Linked DNA regions of Homo sapiens: regions 1, 2, 4, 5 and 6 are each linked to region 3. Evidence: promoter capture Hi-C in 16 types of primary human blood cells and fetal thymus (Javierre and others, 2016). All regions are on one chromosome and are shown on one strand. The core of a region is centred on a gene start or on the middle of the fragment in contact, and the rest is flanking DNA. Distances in the headings are between cores, read along the strand shown. Region 1 overlaps AP1G1 (adaptor related protein complex 1 subunit gamma 1). Region 2 overlaps AP1G1 (adaptor related protein complex 1 subunit gamma 1). Region 3 holds the start of ATXN1L (ataxin 1 like). Region 4 overlaps PKD1L3 (polycystin 1 like 3, transient receptor potential channel interacting). Region 5 overlaps PKD1L3 (polycystin 1 like 3, transient receptor potential channel interacting). Region 6 overlaps AP1G1 (adaptor related protein complex 1 subunit gamma 1).

Evidence for each region. Contacts are between HindIII fragments. The CHiCAGO score rates a contact against its expected background, and 5 or more counts as called.
Region 1: a contact is called between a fragment that was not itself captured here and the fragment with the promoter of ATXN1L in region 3, in 3 of 17 cell types (naive CD4 T cells, total CD4 T cells and activated CD4 T cells). The highest score is 6.1, in naive CD4 T cells.
Region 2: a contact is called between a fragment that was not itself captured here and the fragment with the promoter of ATXN1L in region 3, in 1 of 17 cell types (total CD4 T cells). The highest score is 5.8, in total CD4 T cells.
Region 4: a fragment that was not itself captured here is called in contact with the fragment with the promoter of ATXN1L in region 3 in 1 of 17 cell types (total CD4 T cells); the score reaches 5.2 in total CD4 T cells.
Region 5: a contact is called between a fragment that was not itself captured here and the fragment with the promoter of ATXN1L in region 3, in 3 of 17 cell types (activated CD4 T cells, naive CD4 T cells and total CD4 T cells). The highest score is 6.8, in activated CD4 T cells.
Region 6: a contact is called between a fragment that was not itself captured here and the fragment with the promoter of ATXN1L in region 3, in 1 of 17 cell types (activated CD4 T cells). The highest score is 6.9, in activated CD4 T cells.

What each region holds. Positions count from the first base shown.
Region 1 is chr16:71,748,159-71,752,038 of GRCh38, forward strand. AP1G1 (adaptor related protein complex 1 subunit gamma 1) reads right to left here. Exons shown (of 23, transcript NM_001128.6): 14 at 2,052-2,174; 15 at 1,736-1,825; 16 at 93-220. Among named protein-coding and RNA genes, the nearest start is that of SNORD71, 8.4 kb to the right of the region's middle. The HindIII fragment of the contact is 3,916 bases long and covers 120-3,880 here.
Region 2 is chr16:71,765,301-71,769,105 of GRCh38, forward strand. It overlaps AP1G1 (adaptor related protein complex 1 subunit gamma 1), which reads right to left. Exons shown (of 23, transcript NM_001128.6): 7 at 189-284. Among named protein-coding and RNA genes, the nearest start is that of SNORD71, 8.7 kb to the left of the region's middle. The HindIII fragment of the contact is 7,773 bases long and covers 1-3,805 here.
Region 3 is chr16:71,844,155-71,848,008 of GRCh38, forward strand. ATXN1L (ataxin 1 like) reads left to right here and starts at 1,822. Exons shown (of 3, transcript NM_001137675.4): 1 at 1,822-1,950. RefSeq lists enhancers at 894-1,666, 1,400-1,449, 1,667-2,438, 2,240-2,309 and a silencer at 1,710-2,019. The HindIII fragment of the contact is 5,556 bases long and covers 1-2,364 here.
Region 4 is chr16:71,949,021-71,953,333 of GRCh38, forward strand. It overlaps PKD1L3 (polycystin 1 like 3, transient receptor potential channel interacting), which reads right to left. Exons shown (of 30, transcript NM_181536.2): 18 at 3,874-4,073; 19 at 2,544-2,724; 20 at 1,098-1,290; 21 at 763-997. Among named protein-coding and RNA genes, the nearest start is that of PKD1L3, 49 kb to the right of the region's middle. The HindIII fragment of the contact is 924 bases long and covers 1,489-2,412 here.
Region 5 is chr16:71,932,112-71,936,328 of GRCh38, forward strand. It overlaps PKD1L3 (polycystin 1 like 3, transient receptor potential channel interacting), which reads right to left. Exons shown (of 30, transcript NM_181536.2): 26 at 3,247-3,407; 27 at 1,804-2,014; 28 at 1,309-1,410. Among named protein-coding and RNA genes, the nearest start is that of IST1, 39 kb to the left of the region's middle. The HindIII fragment of the contact is 1,428 bases long and covers 1,036-2,463 here.
Region 6 is chr16:71,729,333-71,733,613 of GRCh38, forward strand. AP1G1 (adaptor related protein complex 1 subunit gamma 1) reads right to left here. Exons shown (of 23, transcript NM_001128.6): 23 at 1-3,827. The coding sequence ends at 3,726. Among named protein-coding and RNA genes, the nearest start is that of PHLPP2, 6.8 kb to the left of the region's middle. The HindIII fragment of the contact is 2,504 bases long and covers 1,298-3,801 here.

The DNA.
Region 1 (3,880 bases), core at 828-3,327, 96 kb before region 3:
TTGAAATTTTCCATGATAACAAGTTTTTTGGGATTTTTTTTGTTTTTTAATTACAAAACAACCTGTTCACCCTATGTTTCTTCAATACTCACTTTACAGTACAAGTGAATCGAGTGGAAAGCTTCATAATGGCAGTGAGGGCATAACCTCGTGTCACAGAGGTGGACATATTAGAGATTAGGACACTTTCTAAAATATCCAACACTTCATCCTCTGTTACCTGAGGAGGAGGAGGAAAAAGAAGACGATGAAGAATGAGTAGCATGATTAAGCATCTAAATCTGATATCAAGTCAGGGGAAGCAGCCAGAAAGACAATCCTACCGTTACAAAAGCCTCTAACTCAACCTGTGCTTTGCCAGGGTAACTGTCCAAGCTGTTCTATCAACCAGAGTAGTTGGGGGTAAAAAAAAGTGCTCTGGTTCTATCAACCAGAGCAGGTGGGGGTAAAAAGAGTGAAAAATGACCACTGGGGCTGAGAGGCAATATTAGAGCTTCAAGTGGCAGAAACAGAAGAAGAAAAGAAAAACATACAGAGTTCAAGTGTTGTTGCCACAATTTTCCCTTTTAAAGCCAGTCCTTTAATGTGCAAATAAGAACATGGATACATGTCTCATTTCTTCTTGTTTACCAGCCAGAGGGTAAGAGAAACAGTAATTCAGTCCACTAGGACAGAGACTTGGGCCTAAAGTGGTTTTAAAATCTCACAATGGGGCCAGGCAAAGTGGCTCACACCTGTTTTGTTTTTTTTTTGTTTTTTTTGTTTTGAGACGGAGTCTGGCTCTGTCACCCAGGCTGGAATGCAGTGGCGCAATCTTGGCTCACTGCAAGCTCCACCTCCCGGGTTCACGCCATTCTCCTGCCTCAGCCTCCCGAGTAGCTGGGACTACAGGTGCCTGCCACCACGCCCGGCCAATTTTTTCTACTTTTTAGTAGAGATAGGGTTTCACTGTGTTAGCCAGGATGGTCTGGCTAACCACCCTGCAGGTGACCTCATGATCCACCCGCCTTGGCCTCCCAAAGTGCTGGGATTACAGGCATGAGCCACCACACTCAGCAATGCCTGTTAATCCCAACACTTTGAGAGGCCAAGGCAGGCAGATTGCTTGAGTCCAGAAGTTCAAGACCAGCCTGGGCAACACGGTGAAACCCTGTCTCTACAAAAAAAAAGTAGAATAAACTAGCCAGGGTGGTGCCTGCCTATAGTCCCAGCTACTCAGGAGGCTGAGGTGGGAAGATCGCTTGAAACCCAGGAGATCAAGGCTGCAGTGAATTGTGATCCCACCATGGCACTCCAGCTTGGGTGACAGAGTGAGACTCTATTAAAAAAAAAAAAACAAAAAACCTCACAATGGCTCAATAAGTTCCATCTCAAAAAATGGCAGGTTTTCCAATATAATTCGCGTTTGCTTCTTTAAAAAGTTGGGTATTTTTTAAATTTTTTTGAGACAGGGTCTCACTCCTGAGTAGCTGGGACTAGACACCATCATACCTGTCTAATATTTGTGTCTTTTGTAGAGACAGAGTTTCACCATGTTGCCCAGGCTGGTCTCAAACTCCTGGGCTCAAGCGATGCTCCCATCTCAGCCTCCCAAAGCGCTGGGATTATAGGCATGAGCCACCACGCCTGGCCTAAAAAGTTTTCAAGGAATCAACCTCAACTCCCCATTAAACACTACTCTCCTATAACCAAAACCACTATTTTCCCCCACTTAACCAAGAGTGACAAGGAGTACCTGAATAGGCTCTTCCTCTTCACACTGGCCAGATACAAGAAGATCACCATATTCACCTATACACCATGCAGCCACTTGTACCAAAGGTTGCTGTGAAAAGAAAAGTCAACGTTTCTCAAGAACTTCAATTTTTCCAAAGTTATTTAATGCAAATCATAGGTCATCTCATAATAAAGATCAAAACTGTGCATATCTAGAGTGTTAGAAATAAAGACATACCAAAGGGGAGAGAGGAGGGGGGAAAAAAAAGAAGAAAAACATACCAGAAAAATTGAGGGTAAAATTACCCCCTAAAATAGTTGAATGAAGTACTTACTTGAGAATAATCACCAAGAATTGCTTTGTACAGGCGCTGGACAGTATAGGCATGCATCTCCACACTATTAGTTATTAACTGGATTAAATTGGGGACTGCATCATCACGAACATAACTTCCTGCCTAAAAGGAAATGCAGACAATTACCCCTAGAAACACACAGAAATGATGATAACAAGTGTTAGCTATTATTATTACTGTGTGTTTTTTCCTTTCTTTTTTTGAGACAGAGTCTCGCTCTGTCACCCAGGCTGGAGTGCGATAGCGCGATCTTGGCTCACTGCAACCTCCACCTCCCAGGTTCAAGCGATTCTCATGCCTCAGCCTCCCAAGTAGCTGGGACTACAGGTACATGCCACCACACCTGGCTAATTTTTTCTATTTTTAGTAGAGATGGGGTTTCACCATGTTGGTCAGGGTGGTCTCGAACTCCTGACCTCAGATGATCCACCTGCCTCGGCCTCTCAAAGTGCTGGGATTACAGGCGTGTGCCACTGCGCCCAGCCATTACTATTGTTTTTAAAAGAAGAATACCAGAAAACACCCTCAAAGATAAATTTGGTTCCAATTCTCAGGTTCATAACAGCTCAAACTTCAAAGTCTTATTTAAATATGTTACATTTTTAAATTTTATTTTATTTTTAAAAATTTTCTCTTTGTCCAAAGGCCGGGTGTGGTGGCTCACGCCTGTAATCCCAGCACTTTGGGAGGCCAAGGCGGGTGGATCACAAGGTCAGGAGATCGAGACCATCCTGGCTAACACGATGAAACCCCGTCTCTACTAAAAATACAAAAAATTAGCCGGGCATGTGGTGGGTGCTTGTAGTCCCAGCTACTCAGGAGGCTGAGACAGCAGAATGGCGTGAACCCAGGAGGCCGAGCTTGCAGTGAGCCGAGTTTGCGCCACTGCACTCCAGCCTGAGCAACAGACTGAGACTCCGTCTCAAAAAAAAAAAAAAAAAAATTTCTCTTTGTCCAAATTAAAAAAGGAAGGCTGGACACAGTGGCTCACACCTGTAATCGCAGCACTTTGGATGGCTGAAGCAAGATGACTGCTTGAGGCCAGGAGTTTGACACAAGCCTGGGCCACACAGCAAGACTCCATCACTACCAACAATAATAATAATAATAATAATAATGTAAAGGTTTAAAACTTTATCACCCAACCTTGGTCAATCTCCCATTCCTAAATAGAACAATAGATTTAATTTGTAAGACTGAGACCAGTCCTAACCATGTGTATTTTGGAAAGGAAAAAAAAGAAAAAAAAAAAAAAACAGCCAGGTGATCAGGGTTTTATCAGGTCACTCCTGTTAAGAAACACAAAGACAGAGGAAGAATTCTGGGAAAATGATCAGAAGGAAAGGTGAGAAGCTAAAAAGCAGGTAATTTGCAGTATAGTTTATTTACATCCTTCCGTAAAGCAGAGTGCATTAAATACAAGAAAGCATCAGGGTGATCTAATGGGTTTGTATAATAAGACTACTTCATTCAACAGCAGCAGAATACACATTTTTCTTAAACTTACACTGAACCAAGAAAGACCATATTCTGGGTCATAAAAAATATCTTAACAAATTTCAAATAACATAAATCATAGACAGTATGCTCTTAGACCACACAGAATTAAACTAGAAATCTGCAACACAAAGACAGGTGCAAAAAAATCCCAAAATATTTGGAGATTAAAAGAACATACTTCTAAATAACACATGGGTCAAAAACAACATTATAAGAGAAAACTATAAGCCAATCTCTCTCATGAATACACATATAAAAATACTCAACAAGATATTAGCAAATCAAACCCAACAAAGTTATAAAAAGAA
Region 2 (3,805 bases), core at 13-2,512, 79 kb before region 3:
TAAGTGACAGAGCAAGACCTGTAATTGTATCCTCTTAATCTAATATAGAATTGTGTCACTATTCATTAATATAATTAATCAATTAACTACCAAATTTCTACTCAACACAAACTTAAGAGGAAGGAAATTGTCTACTTAAAGATATTAAATTCATATAACATTTATTTAAAACGTTCTTTCAACCTCACCTGCAAAAAGGGGTCACTGATACCAGAAACATCATGTTCTGGTGAATATCCGGACATGATGAGGTTCTTTAAAATACGAACTAATTGGGGCACAAGCTGCAGAGAAGAAAGATGCATCAAAAAACAGTGAATATTGAAGAATGTCTCATGAATAAGCAGGTCCTTTGGTTTAGAAAAAGGGTGTAAGGGTCCCAGTCCAAGCAAATTCTACTGATTTAATATACTAGTGTATTGTAGATGTTTGATAAACTTAGGAGTAACTTAGGGCAATATTCAAGAAGTAGTATGTATTTTATCTGGATAAAACCAAACCAGACTTTTTTATGCAAGAGTTATATGTAAAGATATTACAAATAATATTGGGTCAGAAAGCCTATGGGAACCAGGTAAAACAGATGCCTATGGGGCATACCGCATTTCTAGTTCTGTAGAACTTGAAAAGCCTAGGTGGCAAAAACATGTTCAGTTTTCACCCATTCAAACATTTGCATGTAACATGTCATCATGCCAAAATACAACTAGTGATCTTATTAAAATTATAGCTTTAAAACATACAACCTCAAATAGAGAAAAAAATCTCTTCTCTTAAGATAGAAGAGTTATACCCTTTTCCAACAAACAACAGGGAATACCAAAGCTGACAATAGTAATACGGTAATCAAATGGAAGACACATGAAAAAATTACATCTTTCATCTTAAGAGACATCAAGGCCATGAATAATTTCCTCTTCCTATTCTTAACTCCTATGATACAATTTTTTTAAATTTCAGGACTTATTTATATATATGGCTTTATGGCCTGTTTTCTTGTCTTTTCAATGAGACTATACATTCCTTATAATCAGGAATTTCCTTCCTATCCTTCCTTTACTTTATCCATTAAGAGTCCTAACACATAGTAAAGGCAATTTTACTGCCAAGCCGAAGATGTTTTAAATATTGGCACTCATTTCATTTCTGTTGATCAATTACTTGATATTAAAACAAAAGGTTTGCCACAATAGGAACTTTTTATGTTTCCAACTAAAAACTCAATTTTTAGCTATATAAACAACTCTAATGACCAAAAATTAAGTTAAATAGTGTGCAAAGTGAATTGCATTCCATCTCTTTTGCAGGCAATTTTAGCTACAACTCTGCTGCAACTCAGTTATTTTTTCTCACTATATTTAGACTCTGTCCCTTCCCTACTCCCCAAGCCTAAAAGGGGATCAAGATTGAAATGAAAAGCCAAGCTATATCCAAGGCATGCACTCAAAGCATTCAAAACATTAAGGCCACTTATAAACACAAGAAAACACAGTATGTAAGAATTTAAATAAGTTGAGCCATAACAGTTTGGAATTAAGTAACTTATAAGTCACCTAAACAAAAGTCTACTTTGGACAACTCCAAATAAGACAAATCTAAGCCATGGAGATCTGTAAATTCATTAAATCTGTCAACTATGGGCAAAGTTATATTAGAGATAATAATATACCTTTTAAAACCACTTTAAATCAATATTTTTGTAATAAAATGAAGACCAAGTAGTTACCAACCTTATCTTACATACTTCCCAATGGTCTGTTTTTTTTGTACTAGATATAACCCTAGTTATTTTTTATCTGGTTTATTTCTTGGAAAAGTCATTTTTCCTTGGGCTACTAAATTCAGAAATTGTTTTATCCACTGCCAAAAAGGCCAGCACATCACATAACATTACCCTGGGACACAGAGCACAAATGACTAAATGTTCAGCATACAATTCTTGGAACCCAGTTTCATTTTTCAGACAAAAATGCAAGTTATTAAAACTGATGACAAGACAAACAAAATAAGATGACACAGGGAAAGGCTGCAGCCATGAAAATCAGTTGGTGCCCACTACTCTACCTCAAAATCCTTTTAATATTCCAAAACTTCTATGTAAGATTAAGTACAGGTAAGAGAGAAATAAAATCTCTAAGTGTGAACTGAAAGCTCAGCAGTACATACGGAGCTTTTTAAAGTATGAGGTTACCCACATGCGGTTCTAAAATATCTACTTCAAAAAGCAGCAGCATTTTGTGTCAAAGCTCCAGACTAATCTGGAATTGCCATCACCAAAGCCACTGGGAAACTGCTCAAAGTTTCTCAAGTAAAGATAAAGAAAAGGCAGAGAAGAAGGCTTACAACTCAGGAAAGGCTGCAACTGAAATCCAAGGCTGACTTTGGAGTCAGGAGTTTAAGTGACAAAACAAAAACTAGACTAGGAAGTTAGCCAAAGATGGTAGAACAATAACTCACAGTATTAAGCACAGCTTCAGCATTAGTATATTTTAAAAGCCACATTTGTGGATCGATACACAAAAGCTACTAAGGACCTAATGCCAGCATGCACCATCTAAAAGAGGGTTAATTCTTACCTTTTCATTCTAACATACAGCAGGATTCCAAACAGACAACAGGAACAAAACATACAAAGCAAGCATTAGGGACAGATACGGGTCTCATACTATATTACAATAATTTAATCAAGACATGAACATCTAAGGGAAAAAAAGCCAAAAAAGAACTCCTGTTAGAGCCTTACTAGATCTAAAGTACAAAGTGAGTTCTATTTATGGAATGACCAGCATCCTATAAAAGAAGTTCAATGCATGTAACTACCCAAAGAACAGTCTTCTTCTGAGTCTAAAATTAAGTGGAGAAACAGAAATGTCCAGTTTAAAATACTAGTTTAAAAAAAAAAAAAAAAAAAAAAAGGCCGGGCGCGGTAGCTCACGCCTGTAATCCCAGCACTTGAGGAGGCTGAGGCGGGTGGATCACCTGAGGTCAAGAGTTCGAACCAGCCTGGCTAACATGGTGAAACCCCATCTCTACTAAAAATACAAAACAAAATTAGCCGGGCATGGTGGCAGGCGCCTGTAGTCCCAGCTACTCAGGAGGCTGAGGGAGGAGAATCACTTGAACCCAGGAGGTGGAGGTTGCAGTGAGCCAAGATTGCACCACTGCACCTCAGCCTGGGCGACAGAGCCAGACTCCGCCACAAAAAAAAAAAAAGAGAGAAGGGAGTACTTAAGAGAACTAAGACTTCCATCACAGGAGTCAATGTCCTAAAACGAACAGTAGAGTAAAAGTAATAAAAAAATTTTTAGTTTTAACCTTAAAAAAATAGAAAAGAGCTGGGCGCGGTGGCTCACGCCTGTAATCACAGCACTTTGGGAGGCTGAGGCGGGTGGATCACGAGGTCAGGAGATCAAGACCATCCTGGCTAACACAGTGAAACCCTGACTCTACTAAAAATACAAAAAATTAGCCAGGCGTGGTGCCAGGCACCTGCAGTCCCAGCTACTTGGGAGGCTGAGGCAGCAGGAGAATGGCATGAACCCGGGAGGCGGAACTTGCAGCGAGCCAAGATCGCGCCACTGCACTCCAGCATGGGCGACAGAGCAAGACTCTGTCTCAAAAAAAAAAAAAAAAAAAAAAAGAAAAGAAAAGAAATTCCTGCCTTTAAAAAAAAAATACAAAAAAAAAAAAAAAAAAAACAGGCCAGGAGCAGTGGCTCACACCTGTAATCCCAGCACTTTGGGAGGCTGAGGCGGGCTGATCACCTGAGGTCAGGAGTTCAAGACCAGCTTGGCCAACATGGTGA
Region 3 (3,854 bases), core at 572-3,071:
TACAGATACACAGAAATACATACAACCGACGCTGGGTGTGGTTGGCTCATGACTGAAATGTCAGCACTTTGGGAGGCCGAGGAGGGAAGATCACTTGAGCACAGGAGTCTAAGACCAGCCTGGGCAACATAGCAAGACCTTGTCTCTGCAAGAAATTTTAAAAAATTAGCTGGGCATGGTAGTGCATGCCTATCATCGCACCTACCCCAGAGGCTGAGGTGGGAGGACTGCTTGAGCACAGGAATTTGAGGCTGCAGTGAGCTAAGATGGCACCACTGCACTCTAACCTGGGCGACAGGGCTAAAAAAAAAAAAAAATTATATGTACACACACACACACACATACACGCAACTGCAATGACATATCTTTTTTTTTCTTTTTTTTTTTTTAAGACGGAGTCTCACTCTATTGCCCAGGCTGGAGTGCAGTGGCACGATCTCGGCTCACTGCAAGCTCTGCCTCCCGGGTTCATGCCATTCTCCTGCTTCAGCCTCCCGAGTAGCTGGGAGTACAGGTGCCCGCCACCATGCCCGGCTAATTTTCTGTATTTTTAGTAGAGACGGGGTTTCGCCGTGTTAGCCAGGATGGTCTGCGATCTCCTGACCTCGTGATCCGCCGGCCTTGGCCTCCCAAAGTGCTGGGATTGCAGGCGTGAGCCACCGCGCCTGGCCCAATTGTTATTTATTGAACAGAGTTTGAAGAAACTGAAAGTCTCCATTTCGGTGGCCAAAACCGCAATTACTTTTGCACCAACCTAATACTTTAAAACAAACAACAACAAAAACACAGTTGTTATTCAAACATAAATTCAACTGGCGCTCACTTTTGTCTTCACTTAAGTTAATCAGATGTTCATGTTACTATGAAGTTGACCAGTTAATTTGTAATGAATAATTAGTTAATTTGTAATGAATAATATTTCACTGAGTAGTCAAGCCCTCTTTCCACTAAACCAAGCTGCTTCTCACTGTACTAAACCCCGGGCTCTCTCTAAACTTTCAGGTGTTCCACTCCTTGTCACCTTCCCCTAGATCCTGAGTGGGGTTCACTCTTAGCTCCCTCGGGGGCCACTTCTCAACACTTACAGAGCTCCTATTGACCTGGCACGGTGGCTCACGCCTGTAATCCCAGCACTTTGGCAGGCCGAGGTGTGGGGATCACCTGAGGTCGGGAGTTCGAGACCAGCCTGACCAGCAAGGAGAAACCCTGTCTCTACTAAAAATACAAAAAATTAGCCAGGTGTGGTGGCGCATGCCTGTAATCCCAGCTACTCGGGAGGCTGAGATAGGAGAATTGCTTGAACCTGGCAGGCGGAGGTTGGGTGAGCCGAGATCGTGCCATTGCACTCTAGCCTGGGCAACAAGAGCGAAACTGTCTCCAAAAAAAAGAAAGAAAAGAAAAAAAGAAGACTTCCTATCTCCACCTGGGTCCCCAAGAGGTAAGAGGTATCTCCTTTTCTCCTGAGCCTAGGTCACCTCGGGGTCCCCCGAAGTTCCCCAGAAGGGGCTGCACAAGTCAGGACAAGAAGTCCAGGAAATGGGGGGTCGCCGATGACCACGCCCCGGGGCTCTGTTTGGGAACCCCCAAAATTTACTGAGGTGGAAAGATTGCGGGGTCATTGTGGGGTCAGGCTGAGGGGGCCGGGCCCAGCCCTATTCACGTGACCCGGTCCCAGGGAGAGGAGTTTGTTCACCCACCAGAGGGAACGCCCGACGCGAAGGCAGTGTGGCACCCTCCCTTCCCGGGGAGTCCTGGGCGTTGCTCTCCCACCCCGGCCGTGACGCAATCTCTCCGCGCCGGGGGCGGGACGAGCTTGACGCCATCTCCGGGCGCCCGGCTGTGGGGGGCGCTGGGTGTGGGGCGGCTCCGGGGCCGGGGATGGCGGCGGCCGCGGTTGCGGCGGCTCCGGGACGAGTGAGTGGATCCTGGGAAGCGCTGTGAAATGGGCTGGTGAGTGTCCCTGGAAGTGGTGGCCGCCGGGGCCAGGCAGGCCTGGGGTCGGTGCTCCGGAGGAAGTGGCCCTCAGGAGCCCGTTGCTCCGGCGGGCCGGGGCCCATGAACCGTGGACAGACGGAGGGGAGAGGCCGCACCTAGACCCCCTCGCGCTTCTCTCTGGCCTGTCCTGGAAGGTGGCCTCAGGCCCCGGCGCCCCGGAGGCTGTGTGCCTGCGAGCCAAGGTGTCCGAGTCTGTGGGGCGGGAAGGGCCCCCAAACAAGGAAGCGTCGCCTGCAGGGCCTCGCCCCTGCCCCCTTGGTGAAGGGTGGACCCCCTACTCTCTAAACGCAGAATTCCCAATTTCGAGCCCTACCCTTGTTGGATCAAGGATTGCGGGACCACTGGGAGCCATAACCGTAGTCTCTGACAAGCTTCTCCCTTTCTGTCGGGCGCACCTCTCGCCCGCAGAGAATTTGGGTCTCCAGCTGGGTTCAGCCCCTTGATTCCGACCCAAGCGTGATGAGGAGCTTGGTTCCGGGCTCTGCTAGCAGCGTTGGCAACTCTCCTGAACAGCCTGTTAGCTCGGTTGGGGTCACAAGCTGCGTTTTCCCTTTGAGATGCTCAGTGAGGTTCTCGAGAGGCGGAGGTTTCGGATTCTTAAGTGTGTTTTGCGTTGTGGGAACCTGGCGCACAGGCTTGGCTCTTTGTTTTCCTTTCTGCAGACCTTTTGCCTCTTTCGGTCCCTTTACTAGCCTGTGTTTGCTAACTTCTCGGTGACCTGGAGGCAGGTTTTCTTTAAAGTTTTCGTTACAGAAAGCAAGGATCATTTTGGGATTGAAGTGTGACCCCAGTTTCTGTTGGGAATGAAGAAGAAAGCAAGCTGCTTTTCAGTTATTAAAGCTGCTGGTGGAGAAAAGAGTCATTATTTATGCCACTGTGTAATAATATGTGTTTGTGGAATTAGGAATTTGTTTTCCCACTGTGTTTTCCTATCCTTCCACCTTTTGTGTACACCTGCACCTTGCCAATCTTAAGAGAGAAATGTTGCATTCGGTTTGGGTTGAGGCTTAGAGTGTTCTATAGGACTTGGACAGGATAGTCAGTTTCTCAGAGCACTCACTCATCTGTACTGCCTTCTCTGTTTTCAGAGGTTAAGGCTCCATTCTTTCTCGCTTTGCGTTTCTGGCAAGTGTAGATTCACATAGTGATGGTTTAGTGGTAGTTTTGTTTCACCAGTGTTAGCCAGCTGAGGACCAAGGCAATATTTTCAGTTTCTTTCATACCTGATTCAGCACTTGGTATACTGTCACTCAGAAAATTTTACATACACACACACATATGCTCATTTTTTTTTAACCCTGAAAATCTCTTAATAAGTCTTCTCCTTGAGTGACTCCCCCCTGACCTCTTTTTCTGCCCCAGAAACATAAATAATTGTTCTTTTTCATCTACTGCTGCTTTTTTTCATTTAAATAACTCCACATTTATGTTTTCATAGGCCCAGAATAAAGGGGAAATCCATAGAGTTGATTTTTCCTGCTTCCCATTGTTCATATGGGAACAGTGTTAAAGCTTCCATTTTTATTTGTGCGTTTATCTGAAATTTGGATTGGAGCAAATTTAACCTTTGGGGAACAGGCACAGGTAGATGTTAGGGAAATGATGTTACGGAAAACCAATGAAATTTGATACATGGAAATTTTTTTTCAGGGATGTCTTCTTACAAGTTGGAGCATTAGAGGTGTTTTTCTCTCTGTTCAACTGCCTGGGCACTCTGGGTAAATGTACTGTTTACCTGTGGAGAAGAAGATGAGGCAAGGACGTGTATACTCTAATGCTTTGGAATTACCTTTCATGGTGACCCTGGGGAGAATTAGAGGTCAGGCAGCCGCTTACTCCATTCCTGTTTCTATCTTCTA
Region 4 (4,313 bases), core at 701-3,200, 100 kb after region 3:
ATGAAATGGATAAAATGATATGAAGTCTGATATTGTTCCCCCCAAATAATAGATGAAACAAATTGGCCATGAGTTGGTTATTGTTGAAGCTGGGTGGTACGACTTTAGAATGCATTGTACTAGTCTCTACACTTTTGTGTGGGTTTGACATTTTTCTTAATTAAAAACATTTTAAGTTTTTTGTTGTTTATTTTTTTCAAAGTGCTTTGGGTTGTTGATTTGTTACTGTCCTCTTCACTCCTCAATCCTTTTCTGCCATACTTCTTAGTTTTTTCTGTCATGAATTACACTTATCCCTAACAAATGTCAGTTAAATGTCAGTTTGCTTTTTTTTTTTTTTTTTTAGTTTTGAGACAGGGTCTCACTCTGTCACCTAGGCTGGAGTACAGTGGCGCAATCACGGCTTACTGCAGCCTCGACCTCCTGGGCCAAGCAATCCTCCCACCTTAGACTCCTAAGTAGCTGGAACTATAGGAGCACACCACCATGCCTGGCTAATTTTTTCTAATTTTTGTAGACATGGAGTTTCATCATGTTGCCCAGGCTGGTCTCGAACACCTGGACTCAAGCAATCTGCCTGCCTTGGCCTCCCAAATTGCTGGGATTACATGTGTGAGCCACTACACCCAGCCTGGTTTGCCTATTTGTTTTTTGTTGTTTATGTTACATTGTCAAAACCACTAGGCACCTTGGATTGACACCCAGGGACCTCAGTTCCCCTAACTTCTGCAACTCCAATGGTTCTTCCCATCCCTCACATACCTTTACTGGCTGGCTGATGAAGATGTTCTGAAGCACTGATAAAATAATTGAAATCATCCAGCTGGTGGCTTGGTCTTTGCTCAATTCCAAGCTATAAAGTGCTGTAAAAAAGGCTGAAGCCAGGCTAGTGAAACCTAAGAGGAGCCAGCAGACTGAAGTCAACCATTTGGACAGGCCATTTGAGATGGGCTTTTTTCCTTCTTCTGAGCTCAGGATGGCAAAACTGGTGACTTCCCTGAAGCACAAAAGTTGAGGGAATAATCTTGTATGCATCGGCTGAGATAGAGGATGAGGAAGATTACAGGGGATAAAGAAGGCTTGGTGTGGTGCATTACCTGGATGGCTCTTGCTCCGTGGGAAGAATATGTGTTTCCAAGAGTTCCTGGAGTTTTTGAAGTTGGCTGGCTGCATCTAGGAAGTCACAGGACTGGTGACCCTGGGTGAGACCCAGCGTGCCTAAGTGAGATTTCAGCCTCTGCAGAACTCTATGCAGGTAACAGCAGAAATGATGGTGGTTTTCAGGAACAACTGAAAATATATTTCAAGTTGACACTTTCACAAGTGGATTTCAATAAGAAGCAATTAGTGGTAGAGATTAACAATTCATTGATGGATGATGAGGCTATATTTTCCCACTACTAGCAGAGATTGGACCGTACCCCACATTTGCAGTACTACCATCTTCTCTAAGGATGCTGGTGAATTTTTAACAATTGTAAAATTCTAAGCTTTGATCTAAAGACTTTTAAAACCTTATTGAGTTCTTCACCAGAATGGCAGTACATGTGACCTATACTAGTAAGTGCCCAGGAGACTCAAACAGTATTTGAGAATCCATAAATTCCATAATCTCATCATCTCATAAAAGAAAAAGGATGACAAGTTTCAACAGCCTTTGACAAAGCAGAAAGGATATGTGGGTATAATACAGAAAACTTTTTTTTGTATTTCTCTCTTTTTTTTTTTTTTGAGATGGAGTCTTGGTCTGTCGTCCAGGCTGAGTGTAGTGGCACGATCTTGGCTCACTGAAACCTCTGCCTCCCGGGTTCAAGTGATCCTCCTGCCTCAGCCTCTCTAGTAGCTAAGATTACAGGCATCTGCCACCATGACCAGCTAATTTTTTTTTTTTTTTGTATTTTTAGTAGAGACAGGGTTTTGTCACATTGGCCAGGCTGGTTTTGAACTTCTGACCTCAGGTGATCTGCATGCCTTGGCCTCCCAAAATGCTGGGATTACAGGCGTGAGCCACCCTGCCCGACCTGTGTTTTTTTCTTTTTTCAAGACAGAGCCTATGTTGCCCAAGCTGGAGTGTAGTGGCGCGATCTCAGCTCACTGCAACCTCTGCCTCCTGAGTTCAAGCAATTCTCCTGCCTCAGCCTCCCCCGTAGCTGGGATTACAGGCGCCCGCCACTACACCTGGCTAATTTTTGTATTTTTAGTAGAGACAGGGTTTCGCCATGTTGGCTAGGCTGGCCCTGATCTCCTGACCTCAGGTAATCTGCCCACCTCGGCCTCTCAAAGTGCCGGGATTACAGGCGTGACCCACATCTGGCTTGTGTTTTTTTCTTAATCCTGTACTTTGTTTCACCAGATAGAGAAAGATTGTCTACAAGTCATCAAGGAGAACAAAGCTATCAACTCTATACTAGAAGCTTAAGGAAATTAAAACAACCAGAAGGTTGTATCAGGCCTGTCGGTTATGAATGAGTAAGAAAGTAAGACATATGCAAGGGAGTGGGAGGCAGATGGAAGATTCGTTACTGAAATCTACTGAAGTTTACCACGTGCCCAGTGGCGCTCTCCCTGCTGATGACAGCCTTGACCCTCCAAGTGAGATGATACGAGGCTGGATAAAAGTTTCACCAGCTTAGTAATGTCCCAAGAACTCCATGGCGGCTGCTCACACTTGGAGAGTAGGTATGTATTTCTCCTGAGCAGGAATCTCACAGTTTCCTTTAATTCCTGAATGTAGGACCAGATGAGAAAAATCAGCCTGTTTTTCATTAACCCAGGATTTGTACCAATTACAGGTGGTAAGGCCGTTCCCTTTCGTCAGAAGGGGATATGCTTAGCACAAAGAACCTCAATTTTTCATGTTCCTCTAATTTTTCAGAAAGCAGTCACCTCACAGCTCATGGTAGCTGCAATACCAGTTTTATGAGACAATACAGAATGAAAAAAGAGACAATTTGATCAAACATCAAAGACTAAAGCAAGGCCAGAGTGGTACCATGCACTCCCATTTAGTTCTCAGAATACTTAATCATCAAGAGTAAAAGCTAAGCATGTGGTTGATCACGGCTCAGGGCACAGGAATTGGGAAAAATATATTACAGGTAACAGGACCCTGACAGCCTCCCATGAGATTCTTCCCACTGCTCTCTTCCACTGCGTGGGGAAAGGGAGCATGTCATTTTTTTTTTTTTTTTTTTTTTTTTTTTTTGAGACGGAGTCTTGCTCTGTCTCTGTTGCCAGGCTGGAGTGCAGGGGCGCAATCTTGGCTCACTGCAACCTCCGCCTCCTGGGTTCAAGTGATTCTCCTGGCTCAGCTTCCTGAGTAGCTGGGACTACAGATGCATGCCATCACGCCTGGCTAATTATTATTTTTTTGTCTTTTTAGTAGAGACGGGGTTTCACCATGTTAGCCAGGATGGTCTCGATCTCCTGACCTCGTGATCCGCCTGCCTCGGCCTCCCAAAGTGCTGAGATTACAGGCGTGAGCCACCGTGCCCAGCTGGGAGCACGTAATTTATCTGTAAAATTTGATACTGGCTGGGCACGGTGGCTTACGCCTGAAATCCCAGCACTTTGGGAGGCCAAGGTGGGAGGATGGCTTGAGCCCAAGGGTTTGAGACCAGCCTGGGTAACATGGTGAAACCCTGTCTCTACAAAAAAATACAAAAATTAGCCAGACATGGTGTCACATGCCTGTAGTCCCAGCTACTTGGGAGGCTGAGGTGGGAGGACCACTTGAGCCGGGAGTTTGAGGCTGCCACAGTGAGCCGAGGTTGCACCACTACACTCCAGTCTGTGCAACAGAGCCAGACCCTATGTCAAAACAAACAAGCAGGCAATAAAATAAGATAAAATAAAATTTGATACCAATCTTACCTCAACTACCATTGTGGCAGAGAGAGGCTCAACAGAAGCATCTGAGAGGCAGGAGGCCTGGATGGGAGGAAAGAGGGGCAGAGTCTCCTGTGGCTCAATCAACGGGAAGAGCCGCCCTATGACAAGATTGATTGGGAAGAGGATGACAGCAGTATGGATGCTGACCAGCAGTTCAGACCAGGCCACAGCAAATGGACGCACTGAAAGAAAAGCATGACATCAACTTTCATCTTCAACAATTAAAATAATCGCAAAGTCATTCCTCTCCTAGGTTTAACTATTTACTGAGGAAGTTAACTACGTTTATCTAGAGATAAAATTATCCTGGCAGTAAAGACCATGTTGTGTTCCTAATACTGCTTCATTTGTTAATGAATGAGAACACTGAGAAAATTTGTTAGAGTATTCTAACGTTAGGGCAGTGGAAGAAAAATGAAGGC
Region 5 (4,217 bases), core at 500-2,999, 88 kb after region 3:
GGTTGAATCTGTGGATGCAGACCCTGCAGATACAACATTAGAAACTGAACCTACCCATTTTAATTAGTAATTTTGGAATTCTAGATCATTAGAATGATCAACCATGATCAAAATCTTGCCAGTTTCACTGCTTAAATGGCAGGTTTTTCCTTGCTTGGTCATATCTACCCTTTACATACCAGGGTTTGGAGCCCAGTGCCTCATTTGGGTTTCCTACTTTATATGTTGAGGAGGAAGGCAGGGATTTCTGTTGGTAGTTCCTGGGAGGAAATAATAGGCTCTCTGAAGTGAGTAGTTATTAACTCAACAGAAATAACGCAGTTTCTCTTAGAACTGTACCTTCCTAATTCTTTGTCACTTCCATTATGTCACTTTTTTTTTTGAGACAGTTTCACTGTCTTGCCCAGGCTGGAGTGCAGTGGCACAATCTCAGCTCACTGCAACCTCCGCCTGCCAGGTTAAGGCAATTCTCCTGCATCAACCTCCTGAGGAGCTGGGATTACAGGTGTGCACCACCACGCCTGGCTAGGCTAATTTTTGTGTTTTTATTAGAGATGGGGTTTCACCATGTTGGCCAGGCTGGTCTTGAACTCCTGACCTCAAAAGTGATCCGCTGGCTTCGGCTTCCCAAAGTATTAGGATTATAGGCATGAGCCACCGCACCTGGCCTTTTTTTTTTTTTTTTTTTTTTTTTAATTTAAATAGACATAGGGTCTGGAGTGTAGTGGCATGATCATGGCTTATTGCAGCTTCCAACTCCTGGGCTCACAGGATTCTCTCTCCTCAGCCTCCAGCCTCCTGAGTGGCTAGGACTACAGGTGCATGCCACCACACCTGGCTAATTTTTATTTTTTATTTTTAGTAGAGACAAAGTCTCTATGTTGCCCAGGCTGGTCTCAAATTCTTGGCCTCAAGCAGTCCTCCCCTTCTTGGCCTCTCATGGCTTGAACCAACTTACCCTACCCTGTTAATGCACTTTCAAGGGGCCATTGAGAAGCAGAGAATCTTGTTAATCTGGCCAAGCACAAGAGCACAAGCTTCGGCTCAGTGTCCTTTGCCAATAAGATTAAGGACACAAGAAGTGAGGAAGGAGGGACTGAGTGCTTAGGAAAGGGCAGGTTTCTGAAAGCAACAGCCATGTAAATGCTGTATGCATAGGCAGTACCATAAAGCAGTAGAGCAAAGGACTGAAATTTTCCCCCTTTTCCAGTGTGCAGTGTACAGTAGGGGGCTGTTTTCATAAGGACCCCCCCAATTTTCCTTGTTCAATATATTGAATTCTGTGAGGAAACAAATTATTATTTTTACCTCCTCTTGGTGAGAAATTCCCATCAGGAGACCAACAACAGTCACTGCTGAGCTGAAAAATGTCCGGTAGTCAGAGATGCTGCATCCAAACAGCAGGTTAAACTGAACAGAAGGAGAAAGGCCAGTTAGTGCAAGCCGAGCGCACATCTTTCTATCCTGAGGTGCTTGGGGATGTGGCCAACATAGAAGCAATGGAACAGAAATTCCTTGTGGCCAAATTATGCCCAAAGAATACATAAACTTCCTTTGTAATAACATAGTGTTTTCATAGAAGTTTATTTGACCTTTATATTACCGTGTGAGCTAAGTTTTATCCCCATTTTAGAGAAAAATATGTGGGTTTAAGTCATACCAGTTAAGTGTGGAACTAGATCTAAACCCGGCTTTCCTACTGTACCACCTCGGGTTTCTGTGTTGTGACCATTTCTATGGGAAGCGATGCGATTCCAAGACCACAGCACACGGAGAAGGAGAGACAGCAACGTGGGGGCTTACGGCAATGGCATAGCCTGTCAGCAGGATTAGGATGATCAGCAGAAAGCCCACCACCTCGTCCCAGGCTCGGCTCAGTGTCCTGCTGATGACCCGCAGCCTGGGGCTATGACGCAGCAGGTTCCATAACTGAACAGTTGCCAGGAGAACCGGGAAGCCCACAAGGTGAGTCGCAGCAGAGTTCACTTTTACTGCCTCATAGAAGCTGATGAATCTGCACCAAGGAAAGCTGACAGTTACTCAGCAAGAAGTATGTGCCTATACTGCAGTTTCCCCAGCGCCCCTGCTGCTGATCGTGGCAGCCCTGAGTCCTGTGAGGTCAAATGCTTGTTGATGTGAGAACTGCTTTCTATTGTGGCCTCCTGTGAGTTGTGGATATGGGAGTAACAGAAGGCCACATACTATTCAAGTGATCTACCTGCTGCAGATTGCACTGGGAGCTGTGCCGAAGAAGCCTTAAAATGTGACCTCTAGCTGATTTCTTTATTCCAAATTCATCCTGGGAAGCAAAACCAGCCTCCTGCACTGCTCTGAGCCAAATCTCTCCTCTCAAAAGGAGATTAACTCAGCCCAGAGAGAGGAGCCATGCTGCTGGTCTGTTTTCTGTGGCACACTAATCCTGTGTTCTCTGGCAGTACAGGATTGCTGTAATAGGTGCAATCAAGCTTAGAACAAAATGATGGGTGGTAGACTAGAGGCGAGGGGTGTTGCTTAGCAATTAGGTTTTGTTTTGAGAGAGAGACATTCATAATTTTAGGTTGCAGCAACCAGGTTACTTGGAAGGAGCCCCACAGACACTAGCAAGTGGCACTCTGCACAGATCCGCTGTCACTGCATAAACTGCTCTCCATAAGGCCTACTTGAAACAATGCCTCAGGAAAAGTTACACAGATCACCACCCAGGCTGTTGGCCACTGATGCAAAGGTTAGCAAAGCACCACTTGGCAACACTTGGCATGGGAAACATAGATGTTCCTCTCCATGGGAAAAACCAGAGAAGGTGCCCAAAGAGGCACCAAAAATCTCTTAGTATGGATGAGTGAATAGATGAACATCCCTACCCAGAAAGCAGCTCCCTTTGCATTTAAAGGATGGGACTATGTGTTGTGGTTTTATTTAAAGGATTATTTGTCGTGCGTTAGGCTTTATGCCTTCGCCAGAGGGCAAAATAATGACCAATTCCAGGCCCTTCTGAAATTTAAATGCATTATCCTTAAGCACATACCTAAGCACTAATGAAGGCAGAAGAGCTCTTCAATGTGACTAGCAGTTAAATGGCTTCTAGTTCACTGTCTTCTCTGCTGTGGACATGAGTCCAAGTTCTCTTTTAACTCTAATGTTATGCAAATACAGATCTGGTAGGGGAGTTTGAAGAATACTTGTGTATAAACAGGAAACTTTAGACATGAGGTAGGAATATGCTGTGCCCCTCAGGCTTCCTCTCACCTGTCCTGGTCATCGCGGTATCGTGCCATGTTTTTCTTATGTAGAGAAATACTCTTCATGTCAAGCCCCAGGAGGATGAAGCTAATGAGGATTATACTTGTGTCCAGAATGTTTCTTTTCCCAGTGAAGAACCTCCACTTCTGCTGTTTCAGCTGACAACCCTAAACATAGACAGCACAGTCACTGTTGCTTGTCTGAGAGATTAGCTAGGTCTCTCCCTGCTCAAGTGTGATGAACGCAGCTGATGTCTGTGGGCAAAGCACACTGCCAGGCATTTATCAGATCTCACTTGGACAAATGGGTTATGGTCTTAGTTCAGGTCTGTAGTCTTCAGAAATGCTGCTTACAAAAAAGTTATCTTCAAACAACTTCCATTGGATACATTTATTCTTTTTCTTGGAGATCATAAACTGTCACTTAAAAATCAATAATACAAAAGTTTCTTTCTTTGAGACAGGGTCGCGCTCTGTTGCCCAGGCTGGAGTGCAGTGGTGCGATCATAGCTCACTGCAGCCTCAACCTCCCAGGCTCAGGCTCAAGCAGTCCTCCTACCTCAGCCTCCCAAGTAGCAGGGACCACGAGCACATGCCACCATGCCCGGCTAAGTTTTGTATTTTTTGTAGAGACAGGGTTTTGACATTTTGCCCAGGCTAGTCTTGAACTCCTGGCTTCAAGTGATCTGCCTACCTCAGCCTCCCAAGGTGCTGGGATTACAGGCGTGAGCCACCATGCCCAGCAAAAATTTCTAAATTAGTTATCAAGCCTGAGAATGAAAAAAAAAATACTATGTTTGGCTTAAGATATAAATATATTTTCTTCTGAGTGTAATCATCTGTATTTTTTTTTCTTTTCTTTTTTTTTTTTTGAGACAGAGTTTCACTCTTGTCACCCAGGCTGGAGTGTAGTGGTGCCATCTTGGCTCACTGCAACCTCTGCCTCCCAGGTTCAAGCAATTCTGCCCCAGTCTCCCG
Region 6 (4,281 bases), core at 1,300-3,799, 110 kb before region 3:
TTCATAAAGGAAAGAGTTCAGAAGCTCTTTCCCATGGGGCCCCCAAATGGAAAACAAAAACAAAACACACAAAGCGCAACCGCAGGTTCTTTGAGGGAAGAAAAAAAAAAAAAAAAAAACCAACTCCAAGGCTCCATCTTGAAGCCAGAATCAGCCTCTTGGAAGTCTGTAAAGCAACTGTGCAAGCTGCTTCGGCATTTCCTTCTGTTAAAGTGTTCCAGGTCCTGGAACCCTGTCGATGGGACCCACTCACTGATATTGCTTGAAAAAGTTATTCACTTCCAGTTCTACAAGCAGCCCCACTCTCCCGAGCCAAAGCTGGTCAAAAGTGTTTTAAACTTCAGGACTTTCTGTGCAATTCTCTCTCCAATGATCCTACCCACTCCCAAAGTCATGAATACACAGACATGTAAAACCACTCTCCCAACTACAAAGTTCATGAACACCCACTTTTTCCTCTCTAGTTTTCTCAGTTTAGGACACTGTGGTTAAAATACATTCACTAGAAAAAAATAGACACATTCAAACTCCTTTCCCCTAGTTCTCATGGCCCAAATATTTTCCAATGCAGAAGATAATGAAGTTGAACCTTGAAAGCAGTACTCCCTAACTTCCAATTTCTACGACATAAAAAAAATGGGAAGCATGTTATATAAACCATTAGTGTTGGACAGTTTTAAAAGTCTATTTTCATATATGAATGGGACAAACAAGGAGTACAAATCACACCTTTAAACTAGCAAGAGGAAAGAATCCCCTCCCAAATGTTACACTGAGGAATGTTTCTTTAAATGATAAAGACCTTAAAATTAACAGATGATCACTATGCACAGCCTAAAACTTCCGTGACTGTCCAAACCACCTCAAGGTAACAGCACCAAAGCACTGTGGGAGAAGCTTCTCAGGGAGAGCACCCTTCCTACAGTTTTTTGAGATTACTTAGATGAATTAATTCTCCTTTAGGATTCCCCGGGATGGGGCAGAAACTAGAATAGAAACGACTCTTGAAGAGGGAAATAATGAAGTACAAGTGCATGTGAAATTGTCAAAGTAAGTGTGTGAGGGCTCACTGCTTATCACCCCAGGGTTATCAAAACAGCCTTGGAAAATGCTCTTTCCTCACAATGCCTGTGAAGTCGTAAATCCATCCAAATTTGCTCCCCCTTGAGTGGTTATACTCGGGAAAGGAATTATTGAAATGTGCAAGTATTCAAAGAAATTGAAACATTTCTCCATTTAGCTGCAAGGCCAAGTGAGAGGAAAACTAATTCTGATCCTAGAAACTAAGGCACGCTGAAGCTTTCAAAGATCCAATCATTTGAAACAGTCTTCACAACCATCAGTATCCTAGGCAGTTATTTGGCTGCTAGTCCTTCAGTATGGTGCTTGTGTTCTGATTCCAAAATCAATTCATATTCTACGCAGCACCCTTTGTGTTAAGGCCATGATATTTTACTCCTTCTAGACAAAGCTATGAATGATCATAAACTCTACCTCGAAACTATGATCACCCAAGGAAATGCTCTGTCAGCAGAGTAGACCCTTCCCAGCTCCATTAGCTGACAGTGTCTTATAGCATGGTCTTGAACAGATTTCTTCAGAGATTCAACCCAGTTCAAATAAAAAAACCTGAGCTGGTTAGCTACAAATATAAGAGAGAAAATAAAGCCTCTACACAAAGAGGAATGTTAAGACAAATTCTATTCAAGAAATCCACCAACATTATGTTAATCCTATCATGTTTCACAGCATTAAGTATCCATCCAATGAAATCAGTCTGCAAAGAAACCCTTAAAGGCTATTTTTCATTGCACAGGCAGAGCAGTTGTCTGAAATATGCACTAGTCCACACTTACATTACTGAAAACTATGCAGGAGATATTATCCTGTTCTTGACTCAGTCAACCATTTACCCAGTGGAGTAAGTTTTAGCAGATCTTGCTCATACACACTAGTAAGACCAGAAACTTTCCCGTGGAGCCTTTAGTTCAACTCCAGTTTGTCAAATGTTAGGAATATTCCAGCATCTGATACAGAGCTAGATTTGACAAGACACTGAAGATTTTAAGTAAAGGCTTGGTGAAATGAAGGGGAAAAAAAGGGATATTTGTTTCCAGGTTTAAGATTGAAGCCATAGTAGTCATTATACTGTATTCAATACAGTAACAATTGCAAACATTGTAAGAGCAAGGTGGGCCTCACTTTTTCTTTCTTCAGTATATAAGACATGGCGCCTGAATACTTGAACATACATAGTACATTCAATGTGTACCACAGAGAGAGTCACCTCTACTTCATTCCAGCAACTCAATTTCAAAGTTTGATAACATATGGGTCCTTTCTAAAAAGCACTTGGCACTCTCACTAGTTTAAAAAGCTCAAGTCTTTGATGTGAATATTCATGAGATTCGTCTTTTAAAAGAGACCAATTTCTCAGACTGAGGAAAGGCTATTCCTACCCTATGGTGTCCGTAAGACCTCCTCTGACATAGGGGTATGGAAGCTACAAGGCTTCACTCCAACACCATAAAGTACAATATGGAAAGATTTCTTTAACCGTGTGGTCTTTATTTCAGTGCCAGTGTTACAGATACAACACAAATGTTCCAGTTAGAAGGAATTCAAACGGAATGCCAAGGTCCAAGCCAGGCTCAAGAAATAAAAAGGGAGGTTTGGAGTAATAGATAAGATGACTCCAATACTCACTCTTCCTAAGGGCAAAGGTACTTTTGATACAGAGTCTGATCTTTGAAACTGGTGAACTCCTCTTCCACCCATTACCATAGTTCAAACAGGCAAGTTATGGGCTTAGGAGCACTTTAAAATTTGTGGTGGGAATAGGGTCATTAATAACTATGAATATATCTTTTAGAAGGTGACCATTTTGCACTTTAAAGGGAATCAATTTTGAAAATCATGGAGACTATTCATGACTACAGCTAAAGAATGGCGAGAAAGGGGAGCTGGAAGAGCCTTGGAAGTTTCTATTACAAATAGAGCACCATATCCTTCATGCCAAATCTCAACAAAAGCTCTTTTTAACTCCATCTGTCCAGTGTTTACAAATAAACTCGCAAGGTCTGACCAGTTCTTGGTAACAAACATACATGTGTGTGTCTGTGTGTATACAGCAATGCACAGAAAAGGCTACCAGGAGCCTAATGCCTCTTTCAAACATTGGGGGAACCAGTAGAAAAAGGCAGGGCTCCCTAATGTCCATTATTACATTTCCATTCCGAATGCCAGATGTTAAAAGTGCCTGAAGATGGTAACCCAGCTAGTGAGGAATAAATACCCCACCTTGCCCAGTCCACAGAGAAACAACAGTAGAAAGAAGGGGCAACTCTTTGCTGCAGAGACAAAGTGAGTGTTTTTTCGCCATGGATTGCAGTCCTCTCCTCCAGACCAGCTGCTTATTTCCTCAGGGGCCCAGGGAATGTTGATTCTGGCTGTAAATGTGGGAGGGGTGGAGAAGTGCGGAAAAAGGAGAAGAGGAAGAGTGCAAAGTAGCCTCCAGAAGCAGCCAGCCTCAACAGTGGAGGAGAGGACATTAGTCTTTAACAATGCTTCAAGGTCAGCAGTAACTTTAGGAAAATCCTCCTCAGCAGTTCTCTTCAGCTCCTCATGCCCGTGGTACAGTTGGGGGGGACTTGCCAGCAATCACAACCTCCTTCCCAGAGTTCCTTTGATTGAGTGGGATAAAGAATGAGAATGGTGCCAAACCCTCATTGCCAGGACTGAGGGGGAAAGTTGTTCACCTCTGCTAGATCTTGCATTGCTGAGCCCTTGTGATTATATGTAAGCTTGATCCGCATTCGCAGCTGTTGCTATAAGAGGAAAAGAGAAGTGCAAATTATATACTGAAATGAAATCTCCAGAATCTGTCCGGTCCACAAATAGACTTTTAATCTTAGAGGTCAAAACTTAAAGCAAAGCTGTCTGTTAAGAATGACAGGTAAACAACAACAAAAAACACCCAGTACTCTAGGCTTGAGCCAAGAAGCTAACAATGTCATGCCACCAAGTTGAGAAAGCGCATCTGCAGAATACACGGTTAGCTTTAATCCTTGAACTGCATTAAAAGGACAGAACTCCTTGGGAGCATTTTTTCTTTTCTTTTCTTTTGAAACAGGGTTTTGTTCTTATTGCCCAGGCTGGAGTGCAGTGGCACAATCTTGGCTCACCGCCACACCAGACTAATATTTTTATTTTTAGTAGAGACGGGGTTTCACCATGTTGGCCAGGCTGGTCTTCAACTCCTGACCTCAGATAATACACCCA